6 separate regions of the Homo sapiens genome follow, and regions 1, 3, 4, 5 and 6 are each linked to region 2. The links are contacts of gene promoters, found by promoter capture Hi-C in blood cells and fetal thymus (Javierre and others, 2016). All regions are on one chromosome and are shown on one strand. The core of a region is centred on a gene start or on the middle of the fragment in contact, and the rest is flanking DNA. Distances in the headings are between cores, read along the strand shown.

What was found. The method cuts DNA at HindIII sites, captures the fragments that hold promoters and counts their contacts. A CHiCAGO score of 5 or more calls a contact.
Region 1: a fragment that was not itself captured here is called in contact with the fragment with the promoter of ETS2 in region 2 in 4 of 17 cell types (activated CD4 T cells, total CD8 T cells, non-activated CD4 T cells and 1 more); the score reaches 7.8 in activated CD4 T cells.
Region 3: a contact is called between a fragment that was not itself captured here and the fragment with the promoter of ETS2 in region 2, in 1 of 17 cell types (non-activated CD4 T cells). The highest score is 5.6, in non-activated CD4 T cells.
Region 4: a fragment that was not itself captured here is called in contact with the fragment with the promoter of ETS2 in region 2 in 1 of 17 cell types (monocytes); the score reaches 7.3 in monocytes.
Region 5: a fragment that was not itself captured here is called in contact with the fragment with the promoter of ETS2 in region 2 in 1 of 17 cell types (non-activated CD4 T cells); the score reaches 5.4 in non-activated CD4 T cells.
Region 6: a contact is called between a fragment that was not itself captured here and the fragment with the promoter of ETS2 in region 2, in 1 of 17 cell types (monocytes). The highest score is 5.7, in monocytes.

What each region holds. Positions count from the first base shown.
Region 1 is chr21:39,381,581-39,384,280 of GRCh38, reverse strand. All of the region lies in intron 1 of GET1-SH3BGR (GET1-SH3BGR readthrough), which reads right to left. The region is part of intron 1 of GET1 (guided entry of tail-anchored proteins factor 1); the gene reads right to left. Among named protein-coding and RNA genes, the nearest start is that of GET1-SH3BGR, 2.6 kb to the right of the region's middle. The HindIII fragment of the contact is 4,610 bases long and covers 1-2,700 here.
Region 2 is chr21:38,804,539-38,807,238 of GRCh38, reverse strand. ETS2 (ETS proto-oncogene 2, transcription factor) reads right to left here and starts at 1,310. Exons shown (of 10, transcript NM_005239.6): 1 at 1,119-1,310. RefSeq lists silencers at 588-687, 708-807, 918-1,207, 1,398-1,467, 1,488-1,817 and enhancers at 1,928-2,087, 2,098-2,157, 2,338-2,477, 2,011-2,511. The HindIII fragment of the contact is 4,522 bases long and covers 139-2,700 here.
Region 3 is chr21:39,427,080-39,429,779 of GRCh38, reverse strand. The region is part of intron 8 of GET1-SH3BGR (GET1-SH3BGR readthrough); the gene reads right to left. LCA5L (lebercilin LCA5 like) reads left to right here. Exons shown (of 11, transcript NM_152505.4): 4 at 569-649; 5 at 1,277-1,608. The coding sequence starts at 1,287. It also overlaps a transcript of GET1 not described here. Among named protein-coding and RNA genes, the nearest start is that of LCA5L, 17 kb to the left of the region's middle. The HindIII fragment of the contact is 4,177 bases long and covers 1-2,700 here.
Region 4 is chr21:38,254,307-38,257,006 of GRCh38, reverse strand. It overlaps LOC105372801 (a long non-coding RNA gene), which reads left to right and starts at 1,353. Exons shown (of 3, transcript XR_937708.3): 1 at 1,353-1,636; 2 at 2,673-2,700. KCNJ15 (potassium inwardly rectifying channel subfamily J member 15) reads right to left here and starts at 16. Exons shown (of 3, transcript NM_170736.3): 1 at 1-16. The HindIII fragment of the contact is 1,091 bases long and covers 829-1,919 here.
Region 5 is chr21:39,409,607-39,412,306 of GRCh38, reverse strand. It overlaps GET1-SH3BGR (GET1-SH3BGR readthrough), which reads right to left. Exons shown (of 14, transcript NR_146618.2): 7 at 1,370-1,463. LCA5L (lebercilin LCA5 like) reads left to right here. Exons shown (of 11, transcript NM_152505.4): 8 at 505-589; 9 at 1,940-2,043; 10 at 2,211-2,328. It also overlaps a transcript of GET1 not described here. Among named protein-coding and RNA genes, the nearest start is that of GET1-SH3BGR, 31 kb to the right of the region's middle. The HindIII fragment of the contact is 4,695 bases long and covers 1-2,700 here.
Region 6 is chr21:38,281,540-38,284,239 of GRCh38, reverse strand. All of the region lies in intron 1 of KCNJ15 (potassium inwardly rectifying channel subfamily J member 15), which reads right to left. Among named protein-coding and RNA genes, the nearest start is that of KCNJ15, 26 kb to the right of the region's middle. The HindIII fragment of the contact is 6,132 bases long and covers 1-2,700 here.

The DNA.
Region 1 (2,700 bases), core at 113-2,612, 580 kb before region 2:
TGTCTCAAAAAATAATAATAATAATAATAATAACAACAACAAAAGGAACTCAACAACAAAAAACAACTGGATTTTAAAAGGGGGCAAAAGATTTGACTAGACATGTCTCCAAAGATAAACAGATGGCCATAAGCATCTGAAAAGATACTCAACATCACTATTAGGGAAATGCAAATCAAAACTAAAATGAGACACCACCTTACGTCCATTAGAATGGTTAGTATTACAAAAAAAAAAAAAGGCCGGGGGTGGTGGCTCACGCCTGTAATCCCAGTACTTTGGGAGGCCCAGGCAGGTGGATCACCTGAGGTCAGGAGTTCGAGACCAGCCTCGCCAACATGGCAAAACCCCGTCTCTACTAAAAATACAAAAATTAGCCCAGCATGGTGGCATGCACCTGTAATCCCAGCTACCTGGAAGGCTGAGACAGAAGAATTGCTTGAACCTGGGAGGCGGAGGTTGCAGTGAGCCAAGATTGAGCCACTGCACTCCAGCCTGGGTGACAGAGAGAGACTCCCTCTCAAAAAAATAAAAATTAGCTGGGCGCAGTGGCTCAAACCTGTAATCCCAGCTACCTGGAAGGCTGAGACAGAAGAATTGCTTGAACCTGGGAGGCGGAGGTTGCAGTGAGCCAAGATTGAGCCACTGCACTCCAGCCTGGGTGACAGAGAGAGACTCCCTCTCAAAAAAATAAAAATTAGCTGGGTGCAGTGGCTCACACCTGTAATCCCAGCACTTTGGGAGGCCAAGGTGGGCAGATCACCGGAGATCAGGAGTTCGAGACCAGCCTGGCCAACATGGTGAAACCTCGTCTCTACTAAAAATACAAAAATTAGCCGGGCATAGTGGCGGGCACCTGTAATCCCAGCTACTTGGGAAGCTGAGGCAGGAGAATCTCTTGAACTCGGGGGGCAGAGGTTGCAGTGAGCTGAGATTGCGCCATTGCACTCCAGCCTGGGCAACAAGAGCAAGACTCTGTCTCAAAAAATAAATAAACAAAATAAAATAAATAATAAAAAAAAAAATAGGCTGGGCGCGGTGGCACAAGCCTGTAATCCCAGCACTTTGGGAGGCCAAGGCGGGCAGATCACAAGGTCAGGAGATCGAGACCATCCTGGCTAATTCGGTGAAACCTCGTCTCTACTAAAAATACAAAAAAATTAGCCGGTTGTGGTGGTGGTGGGCACCTGTAGTCCCAGCTACTCGGGAGGCTGAGGCAGGAGAATGGTGTGAACCCGGGAGGCGGAGCTTGCAGTGAGCCGAGACTGCGCTACTGCACTCCAGCCTGGGCAACGGAGCAAGACTCCATCTCAAAAAATAAAAATAAATAAAAAAATAAAAAGAATAAATAAATAAGAAAACAAAATACATGTTGAAGGATATGGAGCAACTGGAACCCTTCTGCACTGCTGGTGAGAATGTCGAATGGTGTGGCTGCTATGGAAAACAGTATGGTGGTTTTTCAAAAAAATTCAACATAGAATTACCATAGATTCAGGAATTCCACTGCTGGGTATATGTCCAGAAAAACTGAAAGCAGAGACTCAAAGAGATATTTGTAAACATTTTAGCATTATCTACAATAGTCAAAAGGTAGAAACAACCCAAGTGTCCATAGACAGATGAACTAATAAACAAAATGTGGCCTATACATACAATGGGATACTATTCAGCCTTAAAAGGGGAGGAAATCCTGACTCATGATACACCATGGATGAACCTTAAGGATATTATGCTGAGTGAAAAGAAGCCAGTCACAAAAGGAAAAATACTGTCTGATTCCACTTATATGAGGTCCCAAGAGTAGTCAAATTCACAGAGGCAGAAAGTACAATGGTGATTGCCAGGGAGAGGTAGGAATGGAAAGTTGTTGTTTAATGAGTGCGAGAGTTTCGGTTAGAGGAGATAAAAAAAGTTCTGGGATGGGGCCAGGCGTGGTGGCACACGCCTGTAATCCTAGCACTTTGGGAGGCCAAGGAGCACAGATCACTTGAGGTCAGGAGTTTGAGACCAACCTGGGCAACATAGTGAGACCCCGTCTCTATTAAAAATACAAAAATTAGCCGGGCATGGTGGCAGGTACTGGTAATCACAGCTACCTGGGAGGCTGAGGCAGGAGAATCGCTTGAACCTGGAAGGTGGAGGCTGCAGTGAGCCAAGATCAGGCCACTGCACTCCTACATAGGCAACAGAGTGAGACTCTGTCTCAAAAAAAAAAAAAAAGAAAATGTTCTGGGAGCGGGGCCACGTGCAGTGGTTCACACCTGTAATCCCAGCACTTTGGGAGGCCAGGATGGGTGGATGGCTTGAGGTCAGGAGTTTGAGACCAGCCTGGCCAACATGGCAAAGCTCTGTCTCTACTAAAAATACAAAAAAATACCTGGGCGTGGTGGTGCATGCCTGTGGTCCCAGCTACTTGGGAGGCTGAGGTGGGAGGATCACTTGAACCTGGGAGGCAGAGGTTGCAATGAGTCGAGATTACACCACTGCACAGAGCCAGACCCTGTCTTAAAATAATAATAATAAAGTTCTGGGATAATGGTTGCACAAAAATGTGAATGTACTTAATGCCACTGAACTGTACACCTAAAAATGATAAAGATGATAAACTTCATATTATGTGTATTTTACAATTAAAAACAAGAAGATGAGCATGGGCCAGCTCATCAGGAGTCTTTTATGCAATGCCTGAGACATCAT
Region 2 (2,700 bases), core at 61-2,560:
TGCTTTTTTCGCTTTGAAAGCGATCAGTTTAGAGAGATGAATGACTAATCCCAGAAATGAGTATCTGAGCATTTCCCTGCGGATGGTCGGTGCTAACATTTACTGTGCTGCGCTACTACTCAGAATTTTAATAAAGCTTAACGTGGAGATTTATCTCTCTGATTGGTGGTGGTGTGGGCAGGCAGATAACGCACAGGCGCTTCCATTGTATGGAACAAATATAATCTCTTACTGGCGAATTAAAATAAATTACTCCTGTCTCCAAAGGGGACTGCTCATTTCTTTACTTTCTAAATAACTAGCGCGTCAACTACTGTTTTAGGCTACCCTGAAATTGTGTACAGGCTAACATAAAAGGTCTCCTGCCGTAAAAAATAAAATAGGATAACACACACGCAACCCAAACACACACAAGCAAACACTCAGTTACCTCTTCATTCAAATGCTGTAGGAACGAGAAAATAAAGGCAGCCCAGCGCAACCAGATCTCATTTCCGACAGGTTCCCCACGCTCTCCTCGCACGACCGAGGGGTCCCCAGCCCGGGCCCTGGACGCGGCGAGCAGGTGACCATGGCACCCCGCGCCCCGCAGGTTCCCGCGGTGCCGCAGCCTTCAGGTGTCTTGGGCGCCCCAGATCCTCCGGGCCCGGCGCCGCTCCAGGAAGTCACCCTCAAAGCCGGGGCGCCAGGCCACCTCGGACACGCTCTCCTGTGCCCCCACTCCCGTTCGCGAAATCATGTTCGCCGGGACATCCACTGGGCAGGACCCCCTACCAGGCCTGCGTTTCCTTTTAAAAACAAAAGCGAGCGAAACAAGCCAGCGCGCCCTGGCCGCGCCCGCCGCTAGGCGACCCCGAAGACAGCGGCCCTAGCACGCAGGAACCCCCCGGCCGACCCCGCCAGCCCCGGAGGCCACTCCATAACCGGAAAACGAGCCGGCGCGGAACTCAGACGCGCGCCCCTAGAGTCCTCGCAGCAGCCGCCACCCCCACCTGCACCCCCGGCAGCGCCCCGAGATCTGCGTGTCAGTGCCCCCCGCGACCCCCGCCCAGGCCCCGGGTGACCCTCCATGGGACTGGAGCCGCGCGCCGGGCGCTCTCTGCGGGCCCAGCTCTTACCCTGCCGCTGCGGGCAGGGCCGGCGCTTGGTCGGGACGGTGGCTGCTCGGCGCCCGCGGCTGCTCGGTGCGCGCCGGGCGAGGGCGAGGGCGCCGGCCAGAGACGATCAGGGAGGCCGGACGCTGGCCGGGCGGCTCCGGGAGCTCTGAGCTGGAGCGACACCGCACTCGTCAGTCTCTGGAGGAAGTAACCGGGCCGTCCCCCACGCGGCGCGCTCTTCAGGAGCGGGAGGAGGAGGGAGGAGGGAGGAGGAAGGAGGGACGGCCGAGTGGAGGGGAGGGGAGGAAACGAGGGAGGAGAGAAGAGAGAGGGGAGGGAAGGGGAGGAGAGAGAAGAGGAGGGGAAGGGAGGTAGGCAGGATGGGGAGAAGCGGGAGGAGAGGGAAGGGGGCAGCAGGAGGGTTGGGGGAGCGGAGGGAGAGGAGAGGGAACGCACGAGGGGAGAGAAGAGGAGGGCGGAGGCGGCGAGGGAGCGCGGGGCGGGGCTGACACCTTCCGGCCCAACCTTCCCTCCGCCTCCTGCTGTCACTCGGCTGGGTCCCTCGCCGGCTGGCCCTGAGGCCCCGGGAGCAGGGCCTCGGCCCCACGTGCGCGCGAGTGTGCGCCCTGGGAGCCGGGCGGAGACTTTCCGTGGAGCGCTCGGCGTCCTCTCTGGGGCCAAGGCCCTAACGCCAAACCTGCCTTTGGAATTCCGCAGCGACGGAGCAGTGGTGCTGGTGGCACCGAAGGGCAGCCGGGCTTGGGTAATAAGGCCCTGAAATTGAGCCGACCCCATTCTTGAACCTCTGAATGGGCTTAGGACTAATGATCATTCTATCACAAAAAGGCTCCAAATGAGGCGCTTCCTGTAGAAACCGGGCCCTGGCTGTGTCCCCGAGTCGTGGTGCTGATCGCGCTGCTCCCGGGAAGCCCCGATCCCGCAGGCTCCGCGGGAGTGGCGCCCTCTGGAGCTGAGCGGTGCCCAGATAGCGACCCGCCTTGGCCGCGCTTCAATCTGGGCTGGGCACTCCACGCACATCATCGTCACTCTCGGAGGACTTGCGGCTCCCACTTTACACAGGTGGGAACTGAACCTTAGGATGAATAACCTGCCACGTCAGATTGATGAGAAATTCAAGGTGGAAACCTGAGTTTATCTGACTCCGAAACCCTGGTCAAAACCACCCCCTACACTGTGGTTTCCGTTTTTATCAGAAGGTGCTTGAGTCCATGGCTGTTTGGACTCAGGTCACATGCTCAATATTTTGCAGGAAAGTTTAGATTCCTGAAGTTGTGGATGAAATAGGAAACCCCAGCTTAGGCGAGGCCACGGGGCTGAAAGCTGCTCACATCTCAAGAACTGCGGCACCACCGGGAAGGGAGAGGAATGGCCCAGCTTCTCTGTGACTCAGGGTTCTAGGTTTCCATGGTGACTCTAGGTCTAGAGTTATCCGGATAATTGAGATATCGGTGCACCTTAATGTTTCTGGGTCCCCGAAGGTCTCCGGGTATCACCGTGGCATGAGTCACAGTCAGAATCTATACGGCTGAAACAATCACGTATAGGGGAAGTGATTATTTCTTGGAGACTGAATTGATTCTGA
Region 3 (2,700 bases), core at 30-2,529, 620 kb before region 2:
TCCCAAAGTGCTGGTATTTCAGATGTGAGCCACAATGCCCAGCCTGGATTCTTCTTAATCTAGATGCAAAGGTTCACAAATAAGGATCTGCTTCTGCCCACCGCTACACAGCAGAATGTGTCTGGAAAGAGAAATTCTTTGCCTTAGGATTGTGTAATGCTCCCACCAATGTGGTGTTGCAGTCATGGTGCTTAATGAAAAAAGCACTGCCCCTGGAGCTAAGAAACAGGGACAGTCTCTGAACTTTAAACCTGTCTGAACCTATTCCCTCTAGGTGGCTGAGATGAGGTGATGTGAAATAAGTTTGTACAAAGTAAGAGCACTAGTTAGATATTAAGTGTAATGCTAATATTAATTATTACTAAGATCATTTGATTTCTTGTAGTGAGGAGATTGTGGACTGCCTAATATATTTCATCAGAAGAGAAGGCTGGAGAATTAAGCAGATGCAGCAAAAAGCAGAAACTGACTTCAAAAAAAACCCTCTCAGTAGAGAAAGTGATATTAGATTCCTATTGCAAAGGATCTAATGCCAGTTAAATTCTCTTTTGCTTTCTTGATAAAACAGGAGAATTGAGAATTAAATGAAAAGGTAAATCCTTTTAAAGACCTCAGAAGATGGATCTGTTTGTTTCAATCTGCTTTTGAGGTAAGCTGCTATAAAAGAGATACTTGTGGTGGTATTGTCCTTAGTGCAGTAGCATAATAAAGAAATGCAGAACCATCTGCTTTGTAACTAATGTTAATTTTATTAAGGGTATAAATTTGGGGTCTTTCTTGTATTTCACTTTCTATTCCTTCCATTTTAAATTATCACTTTAGACAACTAAGAGGGCTTATTGAAAGTATTCAAAGTTTATGTCCATGGCTGAGCATGGTGGCTCACGCCTGTAATCCCACCACTTTGTGAGACCAAGGTGGGAGGATCACTTGAGCCCAGGAGTTCAAGACCAGCCTGGGCAACATAGTGAGACTCCCATTTCTACCAAAAAATAATAAGTTAGCCAGGTGTGACGGCACACACTCGTAGTCCCAGCTACTCCAGAGGCTGAGCTGAGAGGATCGCTTGAGCCCAGGAGGTCAAGGCTGCAGAAAGCCATGGCCACACCACTGCACTCCAACCTAGGCAACAGAGTGACACCCTGTCTTTAAAAAAAAAAAAAAAAAAAAAAAAAAAAAAATATATATATATATATATATAAAATAAAGCATAGGTTCATTTTAATGTCAATAAATTCAAAAATACTTTTATTAGGTTTTACTTTTCTTTTATTAGGTTGTTTGCTATGTCTTTGGCTGATCTAACAAAAACAAATATAGATGAGCATTTCTTCGGCGTGGCATTAGAAAACAATAGGAGGTCTGCAGCATGCAAGAGAAGCCCAGGCACAGGCGATTTTTCACGGAACAGTAATGCTTCCAATAAGAGTGTTGATTATAGCAGATCTCAGTGCTCCTGTGGAAGTTTAAGTTCTCAGTATGATTATTCAGAAGACTTTCTCTGTGATTGTTCAGAAAAGGCTATTAATAGAAATTATTTAAAGCAGCCTGTGGTAAAAGAAAAGGAGAAGAAAAAGTATAATGTTTCTAAAATCTCCCAATCTAAAGGTAAGGAGTAAAATTTCCCAAGCAAGACCAAATTTCTGTCATAATGATGTTATTTTACTGCACTAGTGTTTGAAGTGGTTCATACTCAGTTTTATTGTTTTCCCATATTGTAAATGTGTATTATAGGTGAACTTTTATAGAATAAATTAGGAAATAGAGAAATTAAGAGTAATTATAAAATAACAGAAAGGCTTCACATGTAAAGCCTAGCCCCCTGCATGGCTTACCCTACTGGAGCCTACTAGTGAGGTTAGTTCTGTTTTTAGTTAACAGGTGGCCTTGTTACAGAGTACCACAATATTTGGATTTCACTGGCTTCTTGCCTTTCATCTCAGCTGAAGAATCAGTGTTTGAATTGCCAGTGAAATGTAAATACCTATCTCAGCACCCCAAGAGGATGGTCTCCAAGTCTGGTGAGACATATTGGCAAACACCATCTTTTGAAACAGAGATGGTTCAAAAGGCTGTTAATAATGTCATTTCTTTGTAGATTTTTTTTTTTTTTTTTTGAGACAGAGTCTTGCTCTGGTTACCCAGGCTGGAGTGCAGTGGCGCCATCTCGGCTCACTGCAAGCTCTGCCTCCCGGGTTCACGCCATTCTCCTGCCTCAGCCTCCTGAGTAGCTGGGACTACAGGCACCCACCACCACGCCCGGCTAATTTTTTGTATTTTTAGTAGAGACAGGGTTTCACCGTGTTAGCCAGGATGGTCTCGATCTCCTGACCTCGTGATCCGCCTGCCTCGGCCTCCCAAAGTGCTGGGATTACAGGCGTGAGCCACCGCGCCCGGCTCTTTGTAGATTTTTAAAGTACCAGCTCTATCAACTCCCAGCTGTCCAAATTGGAATTAGCTTGTGTTATCTTTGATCTCCTTTCTTCCTCCTTCCCTGCCCAGACTGTAATTCCTTCCTCCCATTTGAGGCAATCTTGAGCTCATAAGTATTCCTTATATAGAAACAGCTGGGGCTCTTGTCCATGTTGACCATCAGAGCACTTCAGTCAACAGGAGGACAATAAAGGGCCTGCTGTTTGGGGAGTGCATCTGCCACCGCCATGTCCACCTTGCATCTTGCATCCCCAGTCTGCTGTTACC
Region 4 (2,700 bases), core at 125-2,624, 550 kb after region 2:
ATTACCTGGAGGAACTGAAGAGAGAAAGGAAAGAGATTGGGAGACATTGGGCAGAGGAGGGAGGGATAGGGAAGGAGGGAGGGAGGGAGGGAGGGAGGAAAGGAGAGAAAGTGAGAGACAGAGAGAGAGAGTGGGGGAGAAAGAGAAAAAGAGAGAAGGAATCTGAGAAAGGAGACCATGATGTCAGCATGTCTTAAGGTCTTAAGGAAATCTACAAACCAGCACAGGATTCTAGTGGGCATCCAGTCCGGGCTCTCCAAACACCTGTGCAAAAGAAAACTGATGCCTTTTTAAAGAATGCCAGTTAATCTTTGAAGAAACTTTGGCCATTCTTATCAAAGCATTTTAAGGTCCCTTTGGCTAAGTAAACTATAAATAAATAACCAGATTACCTTTTCTAACAATCTCTCCTTTATCCCATGTTTTCTTTTTCTCTTTCCTCTCTCCTCCCCAAATGAATATTAACAAAATCTCTTGCCTCCTGGTGGAATCAGAATGAATCCATACAGACTATACCTATGTCAAACATACCTAAGCAAAATGCCACAGAGGAAAACTCATGTTTTTAGCTCAACCCCTTTATTGAGCTGATTTTTTTCTATTGCCCTGCTTTCCCTGATAAATATTATATATATATATATATATAAGCTGAATAGACATGGGCAAAATTTGGTTCTTCTGGATCATGGAAATTGGGCTTCGGGATACATGTTGGAATCTGAGTTCCAGCATTCTTGCATAGTCTGGCATCTTTATGAGAAATGGTCAGAATTCCATCCTTGAAGAAGGCTTCTAATGGAAGATCTCTGGAAGCAGAGGCAGTAAGCTTCTTTCGGGAATGGGGTTATATGTCCATCCTATGCAAAGTGACTCTTGCAGCCACCACATCAAGGGAGGCCCGTCCAAGGCTCATGTGCTCTCCTGGCCTTCTCACGGCCAGACTGCATGGGGATCGTGGTCAATCCTAAGAGATGGAATGGGTTTTTCAAAAGCACTTCCCCTAGAGAGAGCCCTCTACACTGGTCCAAAGGCAATGCCAAGAGACGCAAACGGTCTGTTTCCCATGGGAGACGATGATATACCCACACGTCCCCTGCCCAGGCATGTCGGTGGGGCCAGACCACGGCATCTGGTTTGACATAGAGCAGACAGGGTGAGGAACACTTTGCTTCTGTTGGAAATGAATGATACTTCCTCTCCCCAGAGTACTGGGCTCTGCAATTCACCCCAAGTGCAGCTGCTGCTGTTCTGGGTGCTTGAACTAAGTGGGAGCTGGAAGGGATGGGGTGTCATTCTGTCTTTAGGAAGGAAGGGCTGAGACTTCCTTATTTTCTCCCCCCTCTCCCTGCTGACTCAAAGCTCAGGGCATAAATCATTCCATTTCTGTTTTCCCAGTGGAGATGGTATGCCTCAGTCTCCTTCTCTTTTGCTCTTTCTTTCCCTGGAAGCAAGGGACTCCTTTTCAGCCTGGGAGTATAAATGGTGGCCCTGGAAAGAAGACACTGGGCTCCCAGGGGTTCAGGGCAGGAGGATGAAGAAGCTACACGAGATTTGGACTTCTTAGAGCTGGTACTCCCGGAGTCTAGAATCAGATAGACCTCCCGCGAGGATATGCTAAAAGTCCCATAGAAAACAGGTAAGCACAGAGGTGCAGAACGATGAAAGAGGGAAAACTGAGAATTAAAGGATCTGAGTATATACCAGCTGCTCAGGTGGGATGATTTGCAGGGGCTGTTTCCTCGGCCTGGAATGGTCCCCTCTGGCCTTCATTCACTGAGCTGACTCATTGTTCAGGTCCTAGCCTGAATGGCACCTCCTCTGGGAGGTCCTTATCTGATCTGGTCCTGATCCAAGTCCGTGCCCCAAGACTCCTTTTGTTGTGTATCTCACTTATCACTGTCTGAAGTTGCCCTCAAGCTTTTCCATTTACCATCTGTGTTCCAGTCTAGAGCTCAATGGTACCTGTCTTATTCACCAAACATCTTTCCAGCAATATCTGGCACATCATAGTCCCTCAAAAAATATGCATATTTGTCAAGTGGGTTGACAAAAGATTACATATGGAAGACATGATTTGTTACCGTGGAACTTTAATTATCTCCTTATATTTAATCTGTATTTCCAGCCTAAGCTTTACTTAATAAACTAACATTTGAACACCTTTTTTTCAATTTGTAAAACACTGCCAGAAATGTTGTTAAGTCCATGCTCAGATCAAAATGTAGGCATGATTAGTTGTATTTTAAGGGCAAGGAGATGGAAGCCAAAGAAGATAAGTGATTTGTGCAAAGTCACACAGCTACAGAGCGATGAATTGAAGCTCAAAACAGCTCTTTTCACTTTCAATCCATGCATTTTTCATTATCGTACATTTTTCTTAAATTCTTATATTTTGAGCATACATATGCATATGTAGCTTCTTCTCAGCATCGAGTTACATACTGCATGAATTTTAACCACAGTTTAATACTCTGGGAAGTTTTAGTTCTTGCAGGACCATACACAGTGGAGCAGATACTCATTTATAACAATTTTAAAGATGATGGAAGGAAAAAATGAGTCCAGAGTAGTAGAAATACATTTTAAAGTTTAAATGCTAAGACAATGTTCTTCATTTTGGTGATGTTTACCTGTTTTTGTTACTTTTCATTTGGTGATATGTCAACAATTAGATTTTGAGGCTGCAGATCTGACAGTTTA
Region 5 (2,700 bases), core at 30-2,529, 610 kb before region 2:
GTCTAGACGTAGCCCTGTCTCATAGAACTTTCTATTAGATGGTGGAAATGTTCACCTGTGCCATCCAATACTGTAGTCACTAGTCACACACAGCTGCTGACCGCCTATTGGAAATACAAATAGTGTGGCTGACGACCTAAATTTTAGTTTTACTTTCATTTAAATGAAATCACAACATATAGTTAGTGGCTACTGTAATGCACAGTACAGAAGAATATTTCATAAACTTCAAGGCCCACAGGACAGAAGGAAAACAGTGGACAAGCTGACCTGCAAGGCTCTTCAAAAATACTGTCCCGATCACAATAATGTGTCACTTTGTTTAAAGAGCTAGTACTTTTCGATGTCAGGAATGGTATAGGATGATATGGCCTATTTCTGTTTCTTCTAAAATCTACAGATTTTATTCATAGGATACTGAGCTCATTTAAATTGTTTTTAAAAGAAATCAGGGTTGACAAAAGCAAGCATTTATAGAAAAATTGGTTTTGTGGTTCTTTTTAGGAAAAGGATCGTGAGCTTGAAATTAAAAACATCTATAGTCATCGAATACTTAAAAATTTACATGACACAGAGGACTATCCAAAAGGTATGTTTTAATTACTTTTGCTCAAAATCTATTTTTAAGTATCTAGTCAGATTTTCCTAATTTATATAGACAAAATAATGGATATTTTCAAAAATCACTTCATTAGGCATTAAAATACATTTTGTGATTCTAGAAGAATAACGAGACTGAGATGGTGACATGGCTAGCAAGGAATAGAAATGCTTTCCCGTTCTCCCATCCTCAGCACACCCCTTTATGTCCTTTCTTCAGGTGGAGCAAAAGGATAACTTCAGCTTGAAGCAAAATGTCTGCCAAAAAGTGAACTTTCTAAGTGTATCTGTTAGCCAGTGTATGGCTTTTCAAAATGAACTTTATTGGGGTATACTTGACCTCAATAAAATGCATCCATTTTAAGTGTGCACGCAGCTCAGTGGGTTTTGACAGATGTTTATACCGATGGAGCCACCACCCCAATCAAGATATTGAATATTTCCACCTCCCCAGGAAGTTTCCTCGTGTCCCCTGCAGTCAGTAGTCCCCTACCTCACCCGAGGCAACCACTGACTTTCCTTTGGTCACAATAGCCTAGGTTGTCTGTTCTAGAATTTCATGTAAGTGGAATCCCACAGCTGCACCCTTTTGTATCTGGCTGCTTTTGTTCAGCATAGTGTTTTTGAGATTCATCTATATTGATGCCACTATCATTAGTGTATACCTCTCATTGGTGAGGTCTTCTTTTCTTCAAGAGCACGTGCACTGCTTTCCCCCCAAAATCTCCCAGCAACAGATTCGACTCAGAAGTACCATAGGAATACTCACCTCTGTTTTATTAGAAGAAGTAGCTACATGTTTACTTCCAGATGCAACAACCTCAAATTTCCTTGCCTGCCTTTGTTTGCTTCTGGCTTATAATCTAGAATAATAGAGACAATGAATCAACCGAGGGGTTGTTTAAATGATATAATTTCCTTCACTTTTCAGGAAAGTGCAGTCTAGATTTAGTGGTCATGCGCTTCAGCATGGACAGTCTAACCACTGATAATCAAGAGCTCCGCCACAGGATAGCTCGGTGGCCTGGCCTCTCACAATTACACGTCTACCTTGCTGAATCCCATCCACAAAGGACAGCCTTGTCCTCCAACAGCAACAATGTCTTATCCTAACACCTACTTGTTTTATACTCAAACACTGTGAGGCCCAAAGTAAGACAAAGCAAGGGCCCTGGAGGGAAAAACAGGAAACTAACAAATGCTTATATATATATTGAATATTTAGAAAATACTTAGTATACTTTATTATTACATTGCATAAAAGTTATTTTATGTTTAAAATCAATATTGTATCCAAATGTAAAATATGTTTCTTACATATAATCTACCTGTTCCATAGTTTCTTCAACAAAATCAGTCCAAGCAGACAGAAAAATTTTGCCATTCACAAGTATGAGACACCAGGGAACCCAAAAATCAGATGTTCCACCTTTGACAACTAAGGTACAGCAAATTTGGAATCTTGCAGTGTCTGATTAAACATGTCTTAACAAAAATAGGCTACAGTCACTTGTTCTATGTGAAAAGTATTTGTAGTCATTAGAATAAAATGCAATTTTAAGTTATCTAGACCCCCCAAAATGTGTTTTTGCTGCTTTTCTAAATTACAGGGTAAAAAGGCAACAGGAAACATCGATCATAAAGAAAAATCAACTGAAATAAATCATGAAATTCCTCACTGTGTGAATAAACTACCAAAGCAAGAGGATTCTAAGAGAAAATATGAAGGTAATTTTAACTCTTTAAAGTCTATCTTATCTGATTTCTTTAAAATTGTGAATTACTATATGTGTATATAAAGCACACATAAAACAGCTGGGCATGGCAGCTCGCACCTGTAATCCCAGCACTTTGGGAGGCCAAGGCAGGCAGATCACCTGAGGTCAAGAGTTTGAGACCAGCCTGGCCAACATGGTGAAACCCTATCTCTACTAAAAAATACAAAACTTAACCGCACATGGCGGTATGTGCCTGTAATCCCAGCTACTCAGGAGGCTGAGGCAGGAAAATCGCTTGGACCCAGGAGGCAGAGGTTGCAGTGAGCCAAGATCGTGCCACTGCACTCCAACCTGGGTGACAGAGTGAGACTCTGTCTCAAAA
Region 6 (2,700 bases), core at 191-2,690, 520 kb after region 2:
GATTGAATGTTTGGGTGTTATACCAGCATGGAGCTCACGCTTGTGCAGAATCCCGATGCAGAAGGAGGATCTCACCTCTGGGGTGCAGGTTTGAAGGTGTGCACTGGAGGCTGCCTGGAGACACCTAAAGAGAAGTAAGCACTAGGGTCTGTGCAGATGGGCCTGGCCTTCAACAGAGACACCTGGACAGGAGGGATGCCTTTAGCACATAAGCCAACGAGTGGAATTTGAGCCATGAAAGTGCAGGAGCTTCCCCCTTAGACAGTAGTGTGGAAGCAGCAACCCAGACTGAGCCTGAGTAGCCTTAAGACCAGGCAGAGTCAGAGATACAGGCAAAGGAGACTGAGGAGGGACCATCAGTCCAAGAAACACAAAGGCACCAGGAATTCACTTTTCACTTATCAAATTACCGAAAATTTTAAAAGACATGTGAACATTCTACATTGACGAGTTTGCAGAAATGAAGAGCTTCCTGCATGGTGTCCGATAGAGTAATCTAGCATAACTTTTTTGAGGGAGGCAGTAATTTGACAATGTATACTCAAAGTTTTAAACTATTTATGTTAGACTGCTTGAGTCAGTAAGTCTACTTTTAAGACTTAATAGGAAATGTATGATAGGATAATGTACAAGAGTGTTCTCTATATTTATTATGATATTAAAACATTAGAAGCAATCTGAGTCACCAACAATATAGGAATGGTTTTAAATTTATAAAACACTCATAGGCTGAAATATTATGCAGTGTTTAAAAATCATGAAAAAATGCTAAATATGTTTTTTAAAAGGCAATTGATACAGCTAAATATGCAGGGTAATCTCTCTGTTTCTCTCTCTAGGTAAGATCAAAATAAAACACCTCTAAAATATTAACAGCAGTTATCTCTCTAAAGGAAAACAAAATTAGGAAGGTTTTTCAACCAGATTTTCCATTTTTATGCAGTTAATCTGAAAATTCAGTTTCCCTAGCACAGACCATTTCCAAGTATTCCAGATTTTACTGTAAATGAGAAGTACTTTCTGTATTATATTACACAAAGAAACTTTCCACACAGTGTTGTGGCCAAACATTATGAAATCATTTACTCTCAGAGATATTTCCAAATATCTATTGCACAAATCCAAGAACCTAGTTTTCAGTCATCTTAAGGCTTCATTTCATTGACTGAATTAGAAGAGTTTGCACTTCACCCAGAGATACTGCTGATAAAGCAGATATCCTGCCCTATACCTTTGCTTAGGCTGACCCCTTTATTCCATATTTCTTCTTTGCTCTATGCCTGGTAAACTCCTACGCATCCCTCGAGGCCCCGCTCAAATGTCATCTCCTCCAGCATGCAGGTAGCGTTCACCTTGTTCCTCTCTTCTGCCTTCTCATTGTCCACACCTCATGATAATACTTACTGTGCTGCTGTAATGATCAGTCTTGGAGTTTAGCTTTCCCCATAGACTGGGCACAGTAGTTCATCCTGAGTGGCAAACACAAGGCCTGGCATGTGGTAGGAACTTAATGTTTAAGGGAGGCACACGGTGGGCAGAGATGCCATTCAAGGGGACTCAGCGTCCGATTTAGTAAGAATGTCACTTGCCTAAGGTTATGATGCCCAACGTTCTAGGTCAGAGAGGAATCCCAGAGAGGAATCCAGTCCACAGCTAGGCACATTGTTCGGGTGAAGAATATTTCACTGATTTGAACAATTCAATTAGAAATAAAGATTTCGTCTTCCTATTCTGATTCGTAGCACAAAGAATATGCCACAATGTTCTATCTTGAAGAGAAAATTAGTTGTACATCTCTCAAAATGACAAAACCGATAAAAACTATGGGCAAACATAAGTATATTCAATTTCATCCAACAAATTACTTCCTCTGTGTATTTCATGTTCCCCAGTACACTGACCATCATAGACAAAGAGTTCTAAGATTCCTTTCGGCTCTGTTTGCTTCTTTACACCAGATGTCTCCAATGTGGGGTACACCAGTAACCCAAGCAGGGACAGTGACAAAATGATAGAAGTATTCAATTGTAGCTTCCACTTTATCCTTTTAAGTGTTTATATCTTATACATATTTTAAAATGAATCCATGGTGAACTTGAATAAATCAACAAGCAAAAAACATATTGCTCCATTTAAAAAAAATGGGCAAAGGAAATGAACCGACACTTCTCAAAAGAAGATATACAAACAGTCAACAAACTTGAAAAAATGCTCAGCATCACTAATCACTAGAGAAATGCATATCAAAACCACGAAGAGTTATCATCTCACACCAGTCAGAATGGCTATTACTAAAAAGTCAAAAAATAGTTGCTGGCCAAGGCTGCAAAGAAAGGGAAAGTTTCTACACTATTGATGGAAATGTAAATTAGTCCAGCCACTGTGGAAAGCAGTCTGGAGATTTCTAAAAGAACTTAAAACAGAGCTGTCATTTGACCCAGCAATCCCATTACTGGGTGTATTCCCAAAGGAAACTATATCATTCTACCAAAAGACACATGCATTTGTATGTTCACCTCTGCACTATTCACTAGAGCAAATACATGGCATCAAGCCAGGTGCCCATAAATGTAGAATGGATAAAGAAAATTTTGTACAAATATACCGCAGAATACTATGCAGCCATAAAAAAGAATTAAATCATGTTCTTTGCAGCAACATGGATGGAGCTGGAGACCATTATCCTAAGCAAATTAATGC